Linked DNA regions of Homo sapiens: region 2 is linked to region 1. The links are contacts of gene promoters, found by promoter capture Hi-C in human tissues and cell types (Jung and others, 2019). All regions are on one chromosome and are shown on one strand. Each heading gives the region's core, a stretch centred on a gene start or on the middle of the fragment in contact. The rest is flanking DNA. Distances are from core to core; before and after follow the strand shown. Region 1 holds the start of EBF1 (EBF transcription factor 1). Region 2 has its middle 120 kb from the start of LINC02227.

The links. Contacts are between HindIII fragments. The study calls those that stand out against the background at their distance.
Region 2: a fragment that was not itself captured here is called in contact with the fragment with the promoter of EBF1 in region 1 in 1 of the 25 tissues and cell types used here (mesendoderm cells).

The regions. Positions count from the first base shown.
Region 1 is chr5:159,095,515-159,103,321 of GRCh38, reverse strand. It overlaps EBF1 (EBF transcription factor 1), which reads left to right and starts at 3,406. Exons shown (of 16, transcript NM_024007.5): 1 at 3,406-3,977; 2 at 6,192-6,348; 3 at 6,916-6,979; 4 at 7,647-7,702. The coding sequence starts at 3,844. It overlaps LINC02202 (long intergenic non-protein coding RNA 2202), which reads right to left and starts at 2,839. Exons shown (of 3, transcript NR_109890.1): 1 at 2,484-2,839. RefSeq lists enhancers at 1,871-2,497, 2,498-3,126, 4,876-5,769, 6,664-7,557 and a silencer at 3,944-4,233. The HindIII fragment of the contact is 15,907 bases long and covers 1-7,807 here.
Region 2 is chr5:158,287,748-158,294,436 of GRCh38, reverse strand. No RefSeq gene overlaps it. Among named protein-coding and RNA genes, the nearest start is that of LINC02227, 120 kb to the left of the region's middle. The HindIII fragment of the contact is 5,538 bases long and covers 1-5,529 here.

The DNA.
Region 1 (7,807 bases), core at 2,157-4,656:
GATAGTGCTTGAAGTATCTGCTTTCAGGTATGATGGCAATCACCCTCTACACACATGCTTTGTCTCTGGAGGTAGTGCTACCCTCACATGAAGATTTAGAAGTATTTAAGAGGCTCTTTTTCAAAGTTTAAAATTACAATTGCTGGTTCAATATTCACCAGAGAAAATCCATAAAAAAAACTACTGCTCTGCTGGCCTGTGTGTCATTTCCAGTTTTCTGTCACTCACTCTGTCTCTCTTCCACCTTCTCTTTAGCCTCCTTCCTACTTAAACATTTATTACAGGATGAGAAAGCCAGACTGAAAGCACAAGGACACCAAGAAGAAAAGCTATGAATACACTCGGCTTGATTAAAATAAAGCACACTCACCACCCCAGGTGAGGTATGTGCTGCCTCTGCACAGCCAAAGGAAATTAGTCTTATCAAAATATTTCTGCCCCCTTTTATTTTTCTTCCTTCTCTAGCCTGGCAGGTATGGAAATTGCCTCCCTCATATTTAGTTCCTGGAGAGACTGGCTCTGGGGTAGAAATTGAGCTGCTCAGGACTTCTTGCTTTGTGCCACTTTCTCATTTGGGTGAGTCAGCTTCAGGCTCTCAACAAACGCATCCTTTGCAGATGCTTCTAGACTCTGTTCAACCCCAGAAATCTATCTGCTGTGTGTCTCTTGCTGATCCTGGACTTGAGGGTGTCTATGCTTTTCTTTTCCCTGGCACTTTTGTCACCTTCCTTTGGCAGTGATCTGCTCCCTTATTTTGTGTCCCTCACCACTGGAGACACCCCACCAGACTCAGCTGGGAGTCCTGCAGTTGAGGACTGTTTACTGGAGAGTAAAATGGAGGTTCAGGCAGATAAAGAGAAGGAGGCCTAGGCCTTTTGCCAGGGCTATATGGGACCCATTGATAGGATGGGTGGGCTTTGCTTCCTCATCTCCTTACCTTCAAGGATCCTCTCTGAGCTGGAGAATATGGCCCAGGCAGGGGGAGGGATTGACTCTGGGGACCCCTTTGGACCTGGAGCATAAGGTTAAGTTTGGAGCTTTAGAAAGTTTTTAGCAGGCCAAGTTTCAATTGTGCATTTAAATACTATAGAGACTGAAAATGTTCACATACCTATCCCCAAAAACCTACAGCCCTTCAAGTCTCTCCACCATTATACTCTTCTTCGACATGAACGCTATGTTAGGAACCCCTGTGAATGCTATGGGGATCCCAAAAGATCAGACCAATCCCTTCAGGGAAGTCCTGGAAGAGATGGCATTAATTATGGTACCAGGGGAAAGTGCTCAGCACACAAGAAGTCTAGATTACATGTGTGAGAGCTGGGCAGGCCTCGTGCACAGGAGATAAAGCAGTGTTTGAGGACAGTGGCCATGCACTGCAGGCCAGGACCACACTCTTTCATCCAGTTTAGGAATCAGGAAGTGGCTCCACTGCTCTGCCAAGAGCACAAAGCATAACTCTTGCCTGTCTCTATTCAACATGGGCATGTGTACTTTTCCATCACTGACCCCATGAGCTTCCTAAATCAAAGGACCAAGGAAGGCCAGCAGAAAGGGGACCTGGATTTCTGGCAGATAATTTCCCCGAAGGAGTCCTTAGCAGATTTGGCTGCAGTCAGGGAGTTCCTTTGAGGGCAATGAAACAGAAGTTCACCATGTGCTTATTAGAGGTTACAACCTGCTAAAAAATGATGGGGTACATTACCCAGAAACTTCTAGCTATTTCCTTTGCCAGCCACAAAGATACATGCTGAAAAGCCTGAGGAGGGAGACAATTTCGTCCTTTTTTCTTTCCCTTTTTCCTTCCATCTCTCCCATTTCCATTCGTTCCTTCTCCTTCTCTCCTTTCTCTCTCCCTCCTTCCTTCCCATTTTCTCTTCCCCTTCTTCCTTTTTTGTCCTTTCTCCCCACCTTCCTTCTCTTCTCCCCCCACCCTTTTCATATGGCAGAGACAGAGTTAGGAAGGATTTGTTCAAGCCCTCCTTTTTAACAGGAAGAATAAAGGAGGATGAGAAAAACCCTACACCAAATAACCAGCTAATCAAGGACGGTTAACATTGCTGTTGCTTTGGTAGTTACTCTAAAAACAAACGAACCAACTACTTGGGGTGGGGAATGAGGGGTTGGCATTTAATTTGAGAAAATTTAAAAACGCATCCTGACACAGCCCCAGTGAGAGCATTCATTCCACCATTCACATATCTCGAGGACTGCCCGAGAGAGGTGAGCGTGTGAGTGAGAACAGTGCCCAACCCTGGCAGCCTCTAGGCTAGCGGCCGAGAGAGAAGCGTTTCAGAGGCCGGGGTGGGAGTAGAGCCTGGTACCCCACTTCCTGGGGACCCACAGCGCCTCATTTGCCGGGGCCCAGCGTCCATTCATCCCTCCCAGCGTGGAGGCCGTGCCCCTCCGAGAGTTACCAGCCCCGACCTCGCGCACCCATATTCCATCCCACCGCCCCCGCCTCAAAGCGAAGAGGTGGGCACCTGGGACGCGCGTCCTGCTTTTTCTGCCCGGGCTCTCCCGTCTCCTCCACTTTTGTCCCCGACGTCCCAGAACGGCGGAGCAGGACGCGGCATCAGCCCTGGGAGGGCGCAGCCTGCGAGCCTCCAGCGCGCTCAGGGCGCGGCGAGGATGCTAAAGGACTGCAATGGCCAGGATGCAGATCCCCAGCTCAAATTCCTGAGGAAGACACCCGCCTCCCTTTCCCTCTGTCCCCTCTCCGTCCTCGCTCGGACCCGCTCCTCCCCAGCCCAGACGTCAGTGCTCAGCGCTCCTTCGCTCGCCACTTTGCGAGGAACTTTGGCCGGCTCCCCTGCGCCACCGGGAGCGGGATGTTAATGAGAGAGCGTGGCCTGGCGCCGCCAGCGAGCCGGCTCCCGGGCCGCGATTGGCTGCGGTGGGCGGAAAGATGACGTTATGCAAATGAAGGGGCGGGGCCTCGATGCGCGGGCCCCGCCTCCTCCCTTTGGGGTTAGTGTGCCTGTGTTTAGCTCTGGGGAAAGTCAAACTGGATTCCATAGGGAAAGCCTGCAAATCACTTCTATTTTAGCAAGGAGAAAACAGAATCTCCATCCAGCAGGGTCCACCCCTCTCTCTTTCTCCCTCTCCTCTCTATCTCTCTTTCCCTCCCCCCCTTTCCTCTCTCCCTCTCTCCCCTTCCCCCCACCCTCTCTGGTGTATCTGTCTACGGCAACCAGCGTCCTCCTCATCTACACGCAAAGGAAAGAAACATCTTTGGTTGGGAGAGAAGGAGGAAAAAAAAAGAGAGAGAGAGGAAAAAACTTGCCTGGTTGTGGAAAATGACACTTGAAGTAGCAAAGCCGGCAGCGCGAGTTGAGTCTATTGTTTCTTAAATTGCCATCAGGGTTTTTTTTTTTTTTTTTTTTTTTTTTTTTTTTTTTTCTTCCTGCTTCTTCAAGTGAAGGGTACCTCTACAAAAGGAAACTCCAGCCCCTCCTGTCCTCCACCGGCCTGTGATCATTACAAAAAAAAAAAAAAAAAAGCAAAAAAAAAAAAAAAGCACCCAAACCAAAAATCAACCAACCAAACAACCCCCAACAGCCAAGCATACATCTCTAATTTTATTATTTTGGTCTTTTCGTTGGATTTTCCCTTTCTTCTTTTTTTCGGGTTATCGCTCAGTTTTGAGCAGAGGTTTACATTTTTTAAAAATTTGCTTTCCAGCCCGCCTTGATCTTCTAAGTGCGAGTTCATCGTCTGAGAAAAAAAAAAATCTCTGGTTGGCGTTTTTGTTTCTTTTCTTTTCTTTCTTTTCTTTCCTTTTTTTTTTTTTTTAATTTTTTTCAAGGGGGAGGAGATTTTCCACAAGAAAAGGTTGTTTTCATGTTTGGGATTCAGGAAAGCATCCAACGGAGTGGAAGCAGCATGAAGGAAGAGCCGCTGGGCAGCGGCATGAACGCGGTGCGGACGTGGATGCAGGGCGCCGGGGTGCTGGACGCCAACACGGCGGCGCAGAGGTGGGTACTGCGCGGGGACCGCGGCCGAGGTGAGCCGCGAGCGGGAGAGCCGGGAGGCGGAGGCGGCAGCGGCAGCGGCAGCTGCTGCCGCGGGGCCGGGCGGCGGGGTGAGTCCGCAGCCGCTGCGCTCCGCTCTCCGCCGGGGCTCCGCGCTCTCCAGCCGCTCTGCCTTCGTCGCCTGCGGCCGGAGGACCTGGAGCTGTCTGCGAGGAGCCCACGCTTTGCCAGCACTTTCCCCTGCCTCGTCTGTGACTGTTTTCATTTTGTTTTAACCCAGAAGAGGCGTCTCAACACAGCATGTTGGAGATCTGTGTTTTATGTTTTTATGTGATTGCTCTTTCTTTTCCGGCCGGCTCTCTTTTCTTCTTTCCCTTCGCTCTTCCTTTCCCTCTTTTCTTTTTTCTTTCTTTCTTTCTCTTCCTTCCTTCCTTTTTCTTTCTTTTTTCTTTTTCTTTCTTTTTTTCTTTCCTCCTTTTCTTTTTCCTTTTTCTTTCTCTTTCCTCTTCCTGCCTTTCTTTTTTCTTTCTTCCTTCTTTCCTTTCTCCCCCCTTTATTTTCTTCTCTTCTCCTTCCTCTTCCTTTCTTCCCCTCTTCCCTCCTTCCATTTCTTTCGTTCTTCGTTCTTTCCTGTCTCTCTTCCTGCCTTCTTTTCTTTCTTCTTTCTTTCATTTCCTTCTCTCATTTCTTTCCCCCACCTTCCCTTAATTTCTCCCTCACTCTTTTCCTTCCTCCCTTCCTCTCTCCATTTTCTTTCTCTTCTTTCTTCAGCTTCCCTCCTTTCTCCTCTTTCTCCTTTCCTTACCTCTCTGGCTTTCCTGTTTTTTCGTCCCATTTCTCCCCTGAGTCTTCTCTTATTTCTGCTATCTCGTTCTCCTTCCCTCCCTCTCTGTCTTTCAGTTTTTTCTTAGTCTACCGGTAGAATAGCAACTCCCAACTTTAATTCTGATATCTCCCAAAAGTCTTCTCCAGCCCCTGTCACCATGGCCCCTTCCAGCCCTTCTCTCACTCGCAGCTCCCTAGACACTAGACTGTGTGGCCTGGAGGCATTGCCCTTGGAGGTTGACCTGAGGGAACTTTCCTGGGCACACCCAAGGCTCTTTCCCAGGCTCCTGGTCCCAAGTGAGAAATGGCCTTTTTCCCCCCATTAAGCCACCAGCTGAGCTTGGGACAGTGGGAGATCTGGTGGCCCCAGGCCCTATCGGACTCAGAGTGCGGAAGGGGAAGAAGGAAGATGACTAATTACATCATCTCCAGCTTCCCTGGGCTGGGGACAAGTGTCCCCAACACTGTTCCCATCCCCACTGAGTATTAGGATGGGGGTGGGTGGTAGTGAGAGTGAATTGGGTAACTGGGCTGGAAGTGAAAGTGTGTGCGCGGGGCGCTCGTGTGTGTTCTTCTATGTGTGTGTGTGTGCCTGTGCGCGCTTGTGTTGGGCAGGTCCGGCTGTCAGTGGCCGCCTGGCGCCCCAGGCGCTCCAGCCTCCCATCGCCGGCCGGCGCACTGAGCCAGCAGCCCTGGCCTTTAGGATTTCTGGAATGAGTGTGAGGATTTCTGCGGAACAGCGAAACTTTGTTAGGACAGGTCTTTAAGAAAACACCCCTCTTCCCTTTTTCACAGCGACCACCCGCGACAGTTCTGAGCCCCGCCCTCGGACCCTTCTCCACATGCTTTTTGGTGGTGGGGGGATGTGGCTTCCCAAGGCCGGGCACTCGCAGTTGGCCAGAGCTTGAGGGGTTCCTGGAGGGTGGCTGCTGCGGCGAGACGCCGAGCATGTTTTCCATCCATTCCCACCTGCCCTGCTAGCTGAGACGTGAGATTCGAGGGGTGCCGGAATATAACTGTGGGTTCTACTCCGCGAAGGTGGGTTCACTTCATCCACCGCCACTTTTCTTCCTCCCCACGCAGTGCGTGTCAGGTAGGAGTAAATGCTTATAGAGTTTCATCTCGCGCGCAAAACCCAAACAAAACTTTCACACCTCTTCAGCGAGTTCTGAGGACGCACCCGTCCTTGGCGGAGAGGACGAGGACATGAGGGGACATGTGTGTCCCGTTGTCAGCTGGGTCTATGTCGCCTGAAGGGGCGTGAAGAGCGCCCACTGGATGTTTTGGGGGAAGAGGAGGTGGGTGTTTGAGGGTTCGAGTGTGTGTACAGGGTGACAAGGGGCGCGGGTCGGCGTCCGGTTTAGCCATCTAACTCTGCGTCTTTGGCCGCAGCGGGGTGGGTCTGGCCCGGGCTCACTTTGAGAAGCAGCCGCCTTCCAATCTGCGGAAATCCAACTTCTTCCACTTCGTCCTGGCCCTCTACGACAGACAGGGCCAGCCCGTGGAGATCGAGAGGACAGCGTTTGTGGGGTTCGTGGAGAAGGAAAAAGTAAGTGGGCGCAGCGCTGTCGCCCCTCGTCCCCGGCTCGGCTCGGGAGCAGGCCCGGGAGCCTTGGGCAGCGCGCCCTTCCTTGAGTGCAAAGCATCCATAACACACTTCTATGTGGGGGTCCCCCAAGCCACTTCCCATCCCAGACGAACCCAGGGTCCTGGTCCACTGGCTCCTTCTCCAGAAAAGTTCGCACGGAGCCCCCAGAGCTAGAGAGAGGCAAGCCTGGCTCTACAATCCACAGCCATGGGCACCCGGAATGAACCCGCCCTCCACTACCAGATTACGCACCGCCTGCCTCTGGTGGCCGGGGCACGAGCCCCTAGGCCCTGGAAAGAGGATAGCCTGTGTGCGCCCGACGGAATTTTCTTTTGGGAGAGAGGGAGCAGTCAGGAACAGGGGGCGGAGGAGGGATCACAATTGGCCACAATTTCTGCTGCTACCGTGGCTGCCTGGCTCGCCAGCGGGGGTCCCGGCTTGGGGAAAGTTGCCTCGAAAGTTGGTCCACTCGCTCACGCAGACCTCTCTCCTGCATCTCTTGTGTCTTTGCGTCCTGATGCAACCCAGGAAGCCAACAGCGAAAAGACCAATAACGGAATTCACTACCGGCTTCAGCTTCTCTACAGCAATGGTGAGGCCCGGGTCGGGTCTATGGCCTCACCCTGGGGCTCCGGGTCTGGGCAGGGGGCGCAGGGAGCTCCAGGTGGACGAAATCCTCCAGCGAAGGTCAGTCATCCGCTTTATTTGAGGTGAACCAGCCTCTCCTAAATTTCGCCCCAGGAGGTTTCACCTGAGGAGGCTCCTAGTGGCCCAAGAGCCTTATCGGTCTCGCGTTTACCTGGGGCCAGGTGTAGTGCCTCATCCCTCCCTGAGCCACTTTCATTCTTCCTCCCCTTCCTGAGGCCTGTTCCTTTGGCTTGGCCCAGGCTGCAGGCCCATGGCCCCTTGGGCTTAGGGGCTGAAGGGTCATGGCCTTGAAGGCTGTGTGCGAGAGCAGAGGGACTCTTGCCGTGAGAACAGACAAGTCGGGGTACCCCCATCCCAGTCCCAGCTGCAGAACTTGGCGTCTGGCTTCCAGGAGCGCTAAGGCAAGGCCAGCAGCACCTCTCTGGACACTGGGGAAGGGAGATCGTGGCTGTATTTTCCAGGACAGTGGGAGTTCCAATCAGCCTTGGAGCCCCTTTCGTGATATGTGTGTGGGGGTTTTGTTGTTATTTTTTGTTGTTGTTAATTATTGTCCACCCACCCTCCGTAACCTCTCACTTAATTCTCCTCCCTTCCCCCATTTCCAACCCTAGGGATAAGGACGGAGCAGGATTTCTACGTGCGCCTCATTGACTCCATGACAAAACAAGTAAGTTTCTTGATTTTGGGCCACGGGGGGCTCTATGTCACAAAATTCAGGGCAGTCAAGAAGCTAGTTGCTCCACCGCAGGTGGGCTGGGACTCTAACTCTAAA
Region 2 (6,689 bases), core at 1,511-4,010, 810 kb after region 1:
TTTTTATGTATAGGAAGCATGATTCAAAATGTTTAGAAAACAAGGGTCTATATTTAAGTTAGAAAAATGGGAGTCAGGCATGATGGTGTGCATCTGTAGTCCCAGATACTCAAGAGACTGAGGCAGGAGGATTGCTTTAGCCCAGGAGTTTGAGGCTGCAGTGAGCCATGATAGCACCACTGCACTCCAGCCTGGGCAACAGAGTAAGAACTCAACTCTTAAAAAAAATAAAATAAAATAAAAAGAAACATGAGGTTATGACCTCCAAATAAGTGCTTTACAGATTGAAGCTGTTAGACAAAAATACTCAGCTAACTAATTACTTTTGCTGCCAGCTAACTAATTACTTTTTGCAACTGCCAGGCTCTTGCAGGAAGAAGATTGGGGTTGCTTTACCATTCCATTATTTATTTCTTTTGTGATGCTGAATGTGCCAGTTGGGTCTAAGCCTCAGTTTTCACAACTGTTAAATAGAGAGAATAATAGCACCATGTACTGATAAGGCCATGATCCAACCTCTCTGCACTTCAGTTTTCCTGTCTATAAAATGAACACGTCAATAGTACTAAACTCTTAGGTTTATTTTTAAGAATCATTAAAATAACCCAATTTCAAGCACTCTGCAACTTCCATCAAAAAACTAAGTCTTTCTCTTCAACCCTTGAATTTGAACTGGACTTGTGACTTCCTTTAACCAGCAAAATGTGACAAAAGTGACAGACACATAGACATACCAGTTCTAAGTTTAGGCCTTAAGAGGCTTTGCCATTTCTGCTCTCATCTTCTCAGAGTACTCTAATGACCATGTGAAAAAGCCCAACCCTGCCAACTTGAGGACAAGAACCACATGAAGAGGGGGTCCCATCTAATAGCCAATACCAAGCCCCAGATAGGTGAATGAGGCCATCTTACCTTATCTAGCCCTTCCTTAGCCACCAGCTGATGTGTCACCAAAAGATGAGCTGAGCTAAAACCAACAACAGAACCACTCAGCAGAGCCCAATCCAAATTGCTGAACCACAGAATCACAAGCTAATAAATTATTTCCTTAAGCCACTTGATTTTGGAGTGGTTTGTTACACAGCCATAGCTAACTGATACAGTTCTATTAATTACAGTTCTAATAATCACTATTATTCCATTTGATGCTCTTTCAACTCTGTGAGATAAGCAGGATGGATAATATCTCCCATTATTAAATAAGAAAATAGACTATGCAACTCTTTCCTGTCACAGTGGACTCTCAAATGGGATGTGTGACAATGACTCATATGGATGTGGAAACATTACACTGTGTAGTTATCTTCGTTTTAGTTTTTTAAAAGGAAACAAGCACAACTTTACTGATATTAATACACAACAAGAATGTATATAATTTATAAATAACTGTACACACATTAGGGATACATGCTAGAAAATGTTTTGTTGATAGTGATGTGACATCAAAAAGTTTGTAAACAATTGCTTTAAACAAGCTGGTAGAAGAGAATATATTAAAATATAAGTCTATGTACACTATAAGCTTATGCTGACAAGTGGAAGACTTAACCCAACTGTCTTACCTGGACTATTGGACTTCCAAACCCAAAGAGTAGAACTACTTCAACAAAATCACAAAATGAACAGGATATTTGCTACAGAAAAAAAAAAGAATTTTCAGAAAGCAATTATCTTCCTTTGAGGAATTAAGCATAATAGTTAAAAATTCAAATTCTATAGTTTTCTAAAGTATAAATAAAATATCTCAGTATGGAAGACATGCATTTTTTAAAAAAGTAGAATAAATTAATTTAAATTATGCCCTGCTGGACATTTGATAATTAGGTTTATATATGATTGCATCTGGAAAACATCATTCTTCCAAATAGGAAAATTATGCAGTATGTATTGTATTGTGGGGGAAACCACATGAAGTTATTTTGCTTCTACCATCAGCAAGGAGGTCCCAAATTGCTTTAAGAATAATTATGAAACACTCTTCCTATATTATATGAAATAAAAAAAATCATGGATCCCAAAATTCTATATACAGCAGATCGAAATTAAAATCATGTGTTTTTTGGTTTTATTTTTTGGAATTCATTGATAATAAGAATTTCCACTAGCTCTCTAAACAATGTCAATGAAGGAAATATATTGAAATCCAGTTCTGTGATTAGCTGGCTGGGCATTTGGAGAGGGCTGTGTTTGTCAGGGATTATGAGGATTAAGTGAATTAATACATATGAAACTCTTAGAACAGTGTCTGGCACACAGAAAATGCCCAATGCAGGTTACAATTATGAGGACAGGAGCAGAGATAAGGATGTCGTCCCTGGGGAAACTTTGGCTTGGCCTATCCCTTTTTTTTACACACACACACACACACACACACACACACACACTCAATGTAGGAGCCGTTGTCAGCCTGGGTGCCACAGAACTGACCATCACTGAAGTCAGTCTTCCCAGGTTCCCTGACTTTACAGATGTGAAACAGGTTCAGAGGAATTAAATGACCTGTGCACAAGCATTCACATCAGAGTCTAAAAGTCTCCTAAGTCTTTGCTGTTTACATATATTAGACTGCCTTCAAAAATCATTCCAGGACAGACAATACAATTTTCTCTCAGACCTAATTTGATTCTCAGAAGGAACCTCCCAAACTCCCTGGAGTCTTCTCCCTTCTTCCAGGTTTCAGGCTGAGGGACCTGCCCAGTTTATCACTGATGTGCCATGAGCCCAGAGCCCAAACATGATATGCCTCCTGGCTGAGTATCCCCTGCTCACACACACAAAAACACACTCAAGCAGCCTAACAAAAGACCCCCACTTAAGCTGCACCAGAGCAACACATCACCTAAAATAAATGTAGCACATATCACCATTCATGCACACGGTGAAGGGCAGGCAAGACGTGCCATCTTTCCTACTAAAAAGTGGGGGTTATTTCTCCCTCAAGGGGACATTTGGCAACATCTAGAGACATTTCTTGCTGTCACAAATGGGGAGGGGAAGCTGTGCTGCTGGCTTCAAGTGAATAGAGGCAACGGGTGCTGCTAAACATTCTACAATGCACAGGACAGCCCCCCACAACAATTGTCTGACCGAAAATGACAGTGTTGCCAGAGTTAAGAAACCCTGCTTTAATAACTATAAAACCCTTGCTGCCTCTTTTTTCTCTGTCAATCAAATGGGGGTAATAACAGTCTTTGCCTTAGAGGATTATTGTCAGGACTGAACAAGAGGATCTATGCCAATGGTGCCTAACTCACAATTAACAGTTGACTCTTTCATTCAGTAAATATGGAATGGCCACAAGACAGTGGATATAAAAGAGTGTGAAAATACTTGTCTTCTCTTCACTACTGGAAACTCCAGGCTAGAGGGGGAGACATTAATCAAATAGTCACGCAGACAATAAAAGTTAACTATGATTATTGTTATTGCTATTATTTAAAAGAATTCTCTTCTTTTGGTGACTTCTCCATGCTAAGCCTCATTCCCAAGCCACTTCGGTGATTTTTCTAATATAACCCAACAATGGCTAATACCAAAGGTGAGTAAGCTAAAAGCTTTCCATGGCTACACTGGGATGGAGGAGCAGGAAAGCTCTTTGCTCATCTGTCAGCTCTTCAACCTTTGAGGGAAGCTGCCTCCAAGTTCTAATTGCCTGCTCCAAACTCCACAGCGTCGGGGGAAGGGGGCACGTGATCAACGGCAGCCCCGCCACTGTGCTGTGTTGCTATAGTAAGGATGCCCTTTATTGATCAGACTGGCCTGGAGTCATGTAACTCCCCAGCTTACTGCTGAGCTCCCCAAGGGGCAGTTGGCAGGCAGTGGTATCTCTCTGGACTAACGCCGATCCCCAGCTCTGCCCTCTCTCCTCCCCTGGACACACAAAGGATGCCTGCAGAAACACCTAATGTTTCTTTGTAGTGTCTTGTCATTCACACACTAATTTGAAGTCACAGATCAAAACTGGTGAGAGACATCAGGGGAAAGATATTTGAAGACTCCCCCCTTCCCTAAAGCAATGCTGCAGTCCTGCATCAGCAGCCAGTAAGTCCACTATTTTCCCCAGAGAATCTCTTTCCTATCCTTTAATTTCACCACTTTCAGAATCTCTCCATCTTGCCAACATTTTTATTATAGAAAGTTTGACTGACTCTTAGAGTAAGTGCAATATGTCTGCTACGGATCAGAAAACCAATGTCCTGAGAGGTTGATGGACTTGCTGAAAGTTCACAGTGCTGGTTAGTAACTGCACAACCAGCACTGTGAGATATCCCCTTTCTTTCCTCCTTCCTTTTAGTTCCCTCAGAAAATGGGCAACCAGGAGTCATTTCCATGTGGATTTTTCTTTTGTTTTCTTTTTAATTTCTAAACATAAGGCACTAAAACTGTCTTGCTTCCTTAAGAACTTCAAATGTCATTGAATATTCACATTTATCTTTTGGACACCCTCCTCCACTCCCACCCACCCACCCACCACTACCTGCATGTGCTGATGATCTATGACCTAACTGTGGGGACTTGTTGGTGAGGTAGGTTAGGCACTGGTCACATGAATAAGTGAAGATCATATAGCAAGTCAGCAGCAACACTAGAATTTGGGGTTTTAGTTAATGCAAGATCCTTTAAGCCGAAGAGAAAAAATACACAGAAACAATCCCACAGCTCTATATCCTACACCCATGGCAGACATTGCTAATCAATCACCGCACACTCTCCTTTCAAACCCAAATACAGCCTCTAGCTCCTTTTTAAGACAATGTTCCAAATAACTTTCATGCTTCCACAGGTTCAATGTAATATGTGGTTATTTGGGAAGGCCCCTTCAAGAAAGGTACATTTTGAATAAGACTTAAAGATAAAGTGAAGACAGAAGACATGTGATGAGGCAGAGGAGGAACATTCCAGGTAGAGGGAACAGTACATGAAGAAGTGGCAAATATGAAATCATATTGGCATATTCAAGACTCTGGAAGAAGATAATCATAGCTGCACTGTCATGAGCAAAGAGAGGAGCAGTAGGAGATAAAGGCAGGCTAGGAGGACATTTGGGGGGTTGTCCCTAATCACTCAATGGTCTTCTAGCTGCTAACACCTTCGCGTGAATTAATTTACTGTACCTATAGGTAGAGGGTAATCCAAAGAAGACCAAAAATACAAGAAATTTCCACCCAAAGAATACAGGTTTGAGCAGAGGATCTGGATACCAAAAAGAAGACAGAATCACTTACCATCTTGCTAGCAAGTAAGGAATCACTCTGTCAGCAAGGTGAGGAGCTGAGGATCTACTGTATCTGTCAGGACTCAATCAGAGAGGCAGAACTACTAGAAGGGATATGTATACAAGCATATGAAAGGATTTCTTACAGGGATTTGACTTTACTTAATTGTGGCACTGGTTAAGCAGTTTCTCAAGGCTGTTGTCTTCCCATCTTATACTGGAGCTTAGGGCCTGCAAGGCAGGCCGGGGAAAGGGAAGATGGATGTAAAGTAAAGGAGAGCAAGAAGCTGAAAGCCACTGCATAAGCTGATGCTCACAAGGATGCACTGGAACCTATGTCAGTGCTCACTGCCTCTGACCTTGATGGTCTGCTTTTCCTACAGAGGCCAGAGCCCTTCATCTTGGAGATAGGCACACACATAGCCCAAAAGTTGGAGAAGCTATGCAGACCTGCCTAGCTGCTGCCTCATGCCAAAGAGGTGAGCCTACAGACAACTGACAGTGTGTGGAAGCTACAAAATGGCTACTGCTTCAGCTCCAGTCTCCAGATCTTATGAAAAGAAACTTTCTGCAGCCTACCCTAATGGGAACACATCAGGAAAGGGATTCTGGAATCCTGGGACATGCAGTTCAGTCTAATCAGTTGCTATATTACAAAGCCATCCATCAACTGAAGAATGGACTAGTAATGCCAAGTCCTGCCTATCTGCCGCCATCTCCTTCTACCCTGCTCCTACCCACATAGCTGTGATCATCTCTGGATTACACTAGGAATGACCAGGAAGTCCATTCTATAGGTTCACCAAGCCATCAGCTGTACTTACACACTCTCTCTTTCTCTCTCTCTCTCTCTCTGAATTTTTTTCATGTAAACCAAGAAACACACAGAGCCTCATCAGTTAGATGTCTGAGGGGATTTGTAGAGGCTGAGAAAGTAGAAGCTGAGTGAGGCTGAGGCGACCATTCAGACTGTGTACAAGCAAAGGAGAGTTGGAGCCGAGAAAAGCAATAATGAGAGAGACCTGGGGACGTTTGAAAAACAAAGAGAGGCCCTTCATTTCCTAGATTTCTCTTAGGGCTTCAGCTGTACTTTGCTTCCTGTGTAAACATACGATGGCCAATTGCAATAAAACTCCACTTTCTCCTTTACTTTTGCCAGCTGGGCTATGTTTATGTTTCTGGTGTTTGCAGTCAATCTCTGCCTGAGTCAGACAGCTGAGGTTGAAGGTAAGTTGGACCTGCTTCCCAGTTCTCCCTTGTTACCACATTCAGTGACCCAGACGGCACAAGTTGGAGGTGACTCAGTTCACATTCATGAAGATGTCTGTGAAGTCACAGTAACTTGGAATCAATGGTGAATAGAGCAAAAGCTACAGAAGTCACAGAAACGCTTCCCTCCTGCGCTGAGTGCTGGGCACGTCACCTCAGCAGAGGCCTCATAGCGGGGAAATCTCAACTCACTGCTCCTTGTAAA